Regions from separate parts of the Homo sapiens genome. Here all the other regions are linked to region 3. The links are contacts of gene promoters, found by promoter capture Hi-C in human tissues and cell types (Jung and others, 2019). All regions are on one chromosome and are shown on one strand. The core of a region is centred on a gene start or on the middle of the fragment in contact, and the rest is flanking DNA. Distances in the headings are between cores, read along the strand shown.

Evidence for each region. Contacts are between HindIII fragments. The study calls those that stand out against the background at their distance.
Region 1: a fragment that was not itself captured here is called in contact with the fragment with the promoter of TMEM30B in region 3 in 1 of the 25 tissues and cell types used here (thymus).
Region 2: a fragment that was not itself captured here is called in contact with the fragment with the promoter of TMEM30B in region 3 in 2 of the 25 tissues and cell types used here (aorta and bladder).

Annotation. Positions count from the first base shown.
Region 1 is chr14:60,257,102-60,259,801 of GRCh38, reverse strand. The region is part of intron 1 of PPM1A (protein phosphatase, Mg2+/Mn2+ dependent 1A); the gene reads right to left. Among named protein-coding and RNA genes, the nearest start is that of PPM1A, 9.2 kb to the right of the region's middle. The HindIII fragment of the contact is 8,153 bases long and covers 1-2,700 here.
Region 2 is chr14:60,162,571-60,165,270 of GRCh38, reverse strand. DHRS7 (dehydrogenase/reductase 7) reads left to right here. Exons shown (of 7, transcript NM_016029.4): 1 at 1-94. Among named protein-coding and RNA genes, the nearest start is that of DHRS7, 1.5 kb to the left of the region's middle. RefSeq lists enhancers at 110-159, 350-409. The HindIII fragment of the contact is 4,419 bases long and covers 1-2,700 here.
Region 3 is chr14:61,280,041-61,282,769 of GRCh38, reverse strand. It overlaps TMEM30B (transmembrane protein 30B), which reads left to right and starts at 1,432. Exons shown (of 1, transcript NM_001017970.3): 1 at 1,432-2,729. The coding sequence starts at 1,623. The coding sequence ends at 2,678. It also overlaps a transcript of PRKCH not described here. RefSeq lists an enhancer at 2,007-2,729. The HindIII fragment of the contact is 14,970 bases long and covers 1-2,729 here.

The DNA.
Region 1 (2,700 bases), core at 82-2,581, 1.0 Mb after region 3:
AGTGACTATAAAAATTAGATACTGACCTATTTTCACTACAATTATAGTACAAGCAAAATACTAAAAAGACATGGCATAGAACTATTTAGTTTATAAAGTTTTCTAATAATCTTTTAGCATTTACAATCTCAATTTGCCTCATCTGTTAACTAATTCAGATTTATCAGTTTTGGATAACTTGTCTTATCCAAGTTATCTATAGACAGATCTATAGACAGAAAGTGTCTTATCCAAGTTATCCAAAACTGAAGTGGATTAAATTCCTAGTTTGCTACTTATAAATCGCCGCATATTTGAGGATTTGGACTCAAACTAACCCAGAAAACAATAACTGACTTCCTGATCCAATCCATCCTTTTTTCTCTTCCTTAAAACTAATAAACAAAACACCTCACATAGAGCATCTACAAATGTTTGCTGATAACCTTGTATACTTAAGTTGAAAGAAAGGAAAAATATAACTTATTAAACATTTAAGATGGTAAAAGATTCATTTATATATAAATACATGGGGATTCTAAATATTTTACACATATGAAATGTCCCTGCTGAAAAAAATGACCAAAAGCATTTGCCTCTAACAGACTTCAGTTGATATAATCTAACATTTTTCAAAATAGAGTCACTCACTGAGTTCATGAATTGTGACATGCAATTTTTTTGTGTATGTAGGGAGATAGATGCTGAGGAAAGAGAGAAAAAAACCTTTTCAAGTGAAAGTTCTATTTAATAGCTTAAAAAATGTGTAACCACCTACCTCCTATACTTGAATAGCCACACCTCAAATCGCATGGCCCAAAATGAACTTCTCAACTACTGCCACTTCTTAGTTCCACATCTGAGGAAACAGATCTATCCTTAGTCATAAGCTCATAGAATCCTCTATTTCCCTTATCGCAGCATTTATCTGGTGAATTATCTCTCACTTTAGATTTTAAGATCCAGGAGGAAAGAGATTATGTCTTTTTTGTTCATATTTAACACATGACACTTGACGAATACATGAGACAGATGAATAACAGCCATTATACCTTGGCTTCTCCCTTGTCAACACTGATTATCTTCTATGCAGGAAAAAGTATTTTCAGAGAAGTTGGCCGGCCAACAAACTGTATCCTACCATTTTCCATCTATAGAATACATGGTTGTCTTTTATCCCTACAAAAATATCATAGTGGATTTCTAAAAAGAAAATATTGGACCCTAAAAGAAATCTACGGCTTAATCAAAACTTGATTTTCAGATTACTGTTCATCAATGACTTTAAAAAGTTTATCAACATCATTAGATACACACTCCCATTATTGAAAAATGGCACATAAGGAAGGGAACAAAAGAGAAAAAACATAGTTATGACTAAAAGCCCACACATTTTCTTTCCCTGAGCTATTTATTTATTAATCTGCTCATTCATTCAACATTCATGGATGGATGAACTTTTTCTAAAGTTTTCTCTACACAATAAGCCAAGTATAAAGTAATTCAGACACAAACGAATTTCTGGGAGCTGGGAAATCCATTGTCAATGCATTCAATGTAGTCTAGCCAAAAATATCTCTAACTTAATCTTGGAGTTTTACTACATAAAACAAGTAATACTATTTACACTTATAGAGCTACTTATTTTACTGACTGTAGCAAACCAGAAAAGATCACACTAGATGGCTGACTAGTTGAAACACCTGCTTACTGTATCAAGAAGCATTTACGCAGAAAGAGAAAATGAAGATGACAGATATGGACTAACAAAGGGTAAGCTGTGGGTTGGTCACAAAACAAAAACTGCCACTTCTAAGATTGGCCCCTTGGCAACCAAAACAGTCTTACAGGCTGTCAGAAAGGATAATACCCTACTGCTTTACAAAAAGTGAAAATTTTATTTCCTATCTACTTAACATTCTGAGGTATGATGGCATACTGCAAAGATGTTTTTCTAAAGCCTGGTAAGTTATGAGATTCTGTTTGGAAAAACAAAAACAAAAAAATATATAGCCATCCCTTATCTTTTATCATTCACATTTTCATTTCTGAATTTTGGTAATAAAGGTAAGCACACTTCATCTTTATACACACAGTACCAAATTATGATGTGATCCTACTAGTCATGATAAAGAAAAAGGTAGTACTAAGAATCCAAGACATTCAAAGTTGGTAATGAATTATATTCTTATTCTTTAAAACAGTACAATAGACAATTCTTGAATAACATATTCTTTAAAATAATTAAGCCACCTAAAGTATAACTAAAAAAAGAATGTTTACTTACATCCCTCCCTGAGGTGGTCATATTATAGATGAATACAAAACACCAGCCTAAATTTAAAGTGATTATACATGACCCATGCTTTCTCATAGTCTGCTGTATTTCCAGCTCACATTCAATTTTCTGTCATGTGTTCATCAGAAAATGAACAGGGAGACTATAAAAATTTAACAGTCATATATTGATAATCTCTTTAAATGAATGAAACAAGACCTGTTTTTAAGGAATTTATTTTCAATAAACATTGAAGTTACCATTTATAGTATAATCTCTATTGTAAACTCAGCTAGCTTGTGTTTAAGACTATCTTCTCAGACTCACTGAGAATTTCATTTGAATAAAGGATCTGTGAAATAATTTATATCAGTGGGTTGCAAAGTAGTAAACATGAATAAAATTTTAAGCCATAAGAAAAAAGTGTGTATGGCTTGTGGAAC
Region 2 (2,700 bases), core at 1-2,500, 1.1 Mb after region 3:
GCGCTGCTCCTGCTCTTGGTGCAGCTGCTGCGCTTCCTGAGGGCTGACGGCGACCTGACGCTACTATGGGCCGAGTGGCAGGGACGACGCCCAGGTGAGGACCGGCCAAAGCCTCTCCCGAGTGGGAGGCCGGGCTCGGAGCTGCCGAGGCGTGTCCGGGTCTCCGGGGGTTCTGCAGTGATCCCGGGTCCTTTGTGGGTTGCGTGGAGCTTCCCGAAGGCCCGGCTGCCCCTTACGCAGGGGCTGCGGGTTGGGGAGGAAGAGGCGAGGGCTAAAAAGCCCCTTTGTCTTCTGTACTGGTCGGAAGATGGCATGGACTTGCCATTCAGGCTAGGAAACCTCTCCAGGGAGTGCCAAACTGTTAAGAGAGCACTGGAGTCGGCGGTGCTCCTGAGGACTCTGACATCTTACGCAGGACTCAAGGGATTCTGGTGTTGTCTCAGAGGACGATACTTTGAGAAACAGTGAGCGTCCCCCTGCGTTTGTAAGGGAAACTCCTTTGTAAGTACCGGAAGCCCGGTCGTTCTACTACCTGAAGTAGTCTGTCCTCCACTTCCCACTCCTGCAGTTTTGAAATAAAATCTGAGATAATCCGAAGTCCTTCACCTACTTACTCATTCTAGTCAAACACTAGAAAGAACTAAAAATGGCAGTTTGCTGGAGCGAGATCATTATTGGCATACTGCCTATCTCACTTTATCTGTGTCTTGCTTAATATTTGACATCGTGTACATTTGCTGTATGTTGGCTCAGCGCTTTACACACATAACATTTAACTTTTACAACAACTCTTACAAGGTAGGCATTATTAATCTTATTTTCCAGATAGGGAAACTGATGTTCAGAGAAATTAAATGACCTACCGAAAGCTAGGCTTTGGATCCTTAAGGACTTGGGGAAATGGGGTTTCCCTGGACCAAGTTTCTGGTATAAAAATACTCAAAGCATGTTACAAAGTTTGCTTGGAAGAGATAGTAGCTCGAAAGATAGACTATGTTTGGGGGGGGCGTTATGGGTTGGGCGTTGAGGGGGGTGATATTGATCCCAAGGTGAGAATTGGTTCCTGTGGACAAAAAAAAAAAAAAAAAAAAATCTGGTAATACAGTGGTTTGTGCCCCTCCAAAGCTTAACCCCACCCGAGAAAATATTATTCCTTAGTATTTCATTTTTCTGGTTGGGTTTTCTTGGGTATAGCATGTGCAGCACTGACATTGAGTTCACGAAAAATACACAACATGGACGCCACAGCAGTGCTACAAAACTATGGCAAGTGATTGGGCTTTCTCCTTTTAAAGCAGGAATCCCAAATACTGCACAACTTCATTAACCAAGGGCTTTCTCTTGATCGATTGTTCCACCTCAGCGGGGGAATATGTGTGCCTATTGGCTGCCATTGGCTGCCTTGCAGACGTTGTTTGTGTTTGATCTTTAGTGCTTTTGTGTTCACTTGGACTTGGAGAATTAAACGAAAATAGATTATATTTTATTATTTAATCCTACAAAAAATATTCAACCCATCAAATTATGTCAAGTGCTAAAAAGCAAAATTATTGACAACATCTGAATGAATATCTCTAAGCTACTAAGTTAAAAGTTATTTTCTCATATTAAGGAAAAGTTAAAAGTTAAGATCATTGAAAATTTTAAGAAATTCATTTAATATTTTCAGTTGTGTTTTGTCGGAAAAGAACAGTTTGAAGGATTTTAAATTTAATTACATTGTTATCATTATGTAGTTATATAATTTGCAAATTTGCACATGTAGTTTGATAAATTGCTATTTATCTAAGTAAGTTACATAAAAGTTATTCAGCAAAAATCTGGCGTGGTGGCATGTACCTGCAATCCCAACTACTCTGGAGGCTAAGGTAGGAGGGTCATTTGAGCCCAGGAGTTCAAGACCAGCCTGGGCAGCATAGTGAGACACTGTCTCAAAAACCATAAAAATGTTTTTCAGCAAATACAGTTATAAAGTTAGAAGTTAATAACTTTTAAATTTTAATTTAACATTTAACTTAATTTTAAAATTTAGTCATATGCTTATTTAGTCATATGCTTATTAACTAAGGAGTAAGCTTTTTTTCTTTTTCTTTTTTTTTTTGAGACAGAGTCTCGCTCTGTTGGCCAGGCTGGAGTGCAGTGGTATGATCTTGGCTCACTGCAACCTCTATCTCCTGGGTTCAAGTGATTCTCCTGCTTCAGCCTCCCTAGTAGCTGGGATTACAGGTGCGTGCCACCACGCATGGGTAAGTTTTGTATTTTTAGTAGACCTGGGGTTTCGCCATGTTGGCCAGGCTAGTCTCAAACCCCTGACCTCAGGTGATCCACCCCGCTCTGCCTCCCAAAGTGTTGGGATTACAGGCATTAGCCACTGCGCCTGGCAGGAGTAAACTTTATAGAACTCCTTTTATGTATAAAGCACAGATATATGTACAGTACATAAATGATATACAGTATATCTGTGGAATTAACATTTCACAGGAGAGTTTTAGGGGAAAAAAAAGTCTAAAAAGACTCCTGGTGGAGGTAGGGAGTGAGAAAGAAGAAAAGATTAAAGGAAAATTGAAATAGACTCAGATTCCCAAAACAGCTCAGACTGGAGAGATGGGCAGACTCTATCAAGATGAAAAAAGAAAAAAAAATCCTTCTTGACTTCTCTGTAGGTTTATTATTTTTTGTCACTTAAAAAAATAGCACACT
Region 3 (2,729 bases), core at 183-2,682:
AACTTGCATTCATTTAACAAACTGGAATCAATGTTCCATTATTAAATCAATATTACTTTTTAATTTTAATGTGACTTGTAGAATGCAATTTGATACTTGATTACACCCTATGATTCATAGCTATTATTGGCTATTTTGATTGTTTCTTACTCCTAATATGTCCCCTATCAAACTGCAAATGCCTTGAGGTCAAAGGTCCTTTTTTGTCTAATTAGCATAGGACTGAACACTTGGAAGATGCTAACAACATTCCTCTGTTAAATTTAATAAGGATTTTAACTTTCCAAGTTCAATGGGTTTTGAATGACTCCTGAATATAATATATTATGCTAGGTGTAGTGTAATAGAGAAAACATTTGTATTACTTGCATTTTACAAGCTGGAGGAGAAGCAAGAACACAATACCTAGGGAAGATTTAGATTTAGTAAGAAATCAGAACGTCCCAATACCCCCTTGTATATGTTTTACCAACCTAGATTTAAAAAAAAAAAAAAAAAAGCCAGAATCCCAGGCAACATAGGGAGCTAATTTGAGTTCTTTTTATAATAAATCCTATAAATCCTTGTAGTTTACTTCCTTAGGCCAGACACTCCAGATGTTTTTGTGGATAGCAGCTAGGTCTCCTGGGACCTTGGATTGGGCCTTTCTCTAGTCAGGCAAATAATCTGAAAAGAAAACGAAATCACATGTAGTCCAGCACATTTTTTCCTTTCTTGGTTTCTCCACACCAGCTAAGAGTTATTTAAAGGCTCTGAACCTCTCCAGCCTTTGATTCTTTTTAAGGATGATTTTATTTTTAGAGAACTTTCCACATTTCCTAGTTATACAGCCAGACTGGGTGATCTGGCCAGAAAATCATTTTCCCTTAAAAAAAAAAAAAAAAAAAAAAAAAAAAAAAGCTAAAATTTGAACGCAGGCGTTGAATTCGAAACAGATTTATCATAACGTAATTCCCTGGACACTCCCAACTTGAGACTGAAAGCTGGGCGAAAGCGGTTTGTGAAGCTAACCTAAAAGACAAAATGGTCTAGAGCCACCTTTTCCCCGCAAATAACAGAGGATTAAGGATCTGAAATCTTCAAGCCTCCAGGACCACGGTGCAAGCCCTCAGCAAAAATTTCTGCTGGAGGCCGGAGCGCCTTTTGATTTCGGGAGACTGGCCCAGGAACTCTAGTCACTTGGAAGGCGGAAGAGAAGGTGGTACCTGAGCCAGGTAGGAGCCACTCAGAGGCAGCCCGGGGCCGCCACTCACCTAGGAGAGGAGGTGGAGTCCGATGACCTGGACTGAGAGGAAACGCGAGACTGAGTCTACCAGGTGAGGTAAAAAACACCCACCTGCTCACCTCGGAAGGGGCGGGCGAGGTGCGGCTCCCGGTGACCCGCGGGGGTGCAGCGCACCTGGGCGGAGGCGGAACTGGGAGGGTGTGGGCACTGCTCGTAGGGCCTGGAACTAAACTCACCTGTGACGGAGGCAGAGGAGGGGCCCGGGCAAAAACCCACCTGAGCTGGCGGGAAACCCGACCCGCGAGCAGTCCCCGGGCTTGCGCGGCGCGGAGAGGGAGGCGCCCCGCGGCGGGGCCCCCACTCGGTCAGCCCGCGCGTCGGTCCCCGCGCGGCCGCCATGACCTGGAGCGCCACGGCCCGGGGCGCCCACCAGCCCGACAACACCGCCTTCACTCAGCAGCGCCTCCCCGCCTGGCAGCCGCTGCTGTCGGCCAGCATCGCGCTGCCGCTCTTCTTCTGCGCGGGCCTGGCCTTCATCGGCCTGGGCCTGGGCCTCTACTACTCCTCCAACGGCATCAAGGAGCTGGAGTACGACTATACAGGCGACCCGGGCACCGGTAACTGCTCGGTGTGCGCCGCGGCTGGCCAGGGCCGGGCGCTGCCGCCCCCCTGCTCGTGCGCCTGGTACTTCTCGCTGCCCGAGCTCTTCCAGGGCCCAGTGTACCTCTACTACGAGCTGACCAACTTCTACCAGAACAACCGGCGCTACGGCGTGTCCCGCGACGACGCGCAGCTGAGCGGACTCCCCAGCGCGCTGCGCCACCCTGTCAACGAGTGCGCCCCCTACCAGCGCAGCGCGGCCGGCCTGCCCATCGCGCCCTGCGGCGCCATCGCCAACAGCCTCTTCAACGACTCCTTCTCGCTTTGGCACCAGCGCCAGCCCGGCGGGCCCTACGTCGAGGTGCCGCTCGACCGCTCCGGCATCGCCTGGTGGACCGACTACCACGTCAAGTTCCGCAACCCGCCGCTGGTCAACGGCAGCCTGGCGTTGGCCTTCCAGGGCACGGCGCCCCCGCCCAACTGGCGCCGGCCAGTCTACGAGCTCAGCCCCGACCCCAACAACACCGGCTTCATCAATCAGGACTTCGTGGTGTGGATGCGCACGGCGGCGCTGCCCACGTTCCGCAAACTGTACGCGCGCATCCGCCAGGGCAACTACTCGGCCGGGCTGCCGCGGGGCGCCTACCGCGTCAACATCACCTACAACTACCCGGTGCGCGCGTTCGGCGGCCACAAGCTCCTCATCTTCAGCAGCATCTCGTGGATGGGTGGCAAGAACCCCTTCCTGGGCATCGCCTACCTGGTCGTCGGCTCCCTCTGCATCCTCACCGGCTTTGTCATGCTGGTCGTCTACATTCGCTACCAGGACCAGGACGACGACGACGAGGAGTGATTCCGGCTTTCCAGGGATCCCTCCTGCTTCTTGCCAAAACTCTTGCAAGGT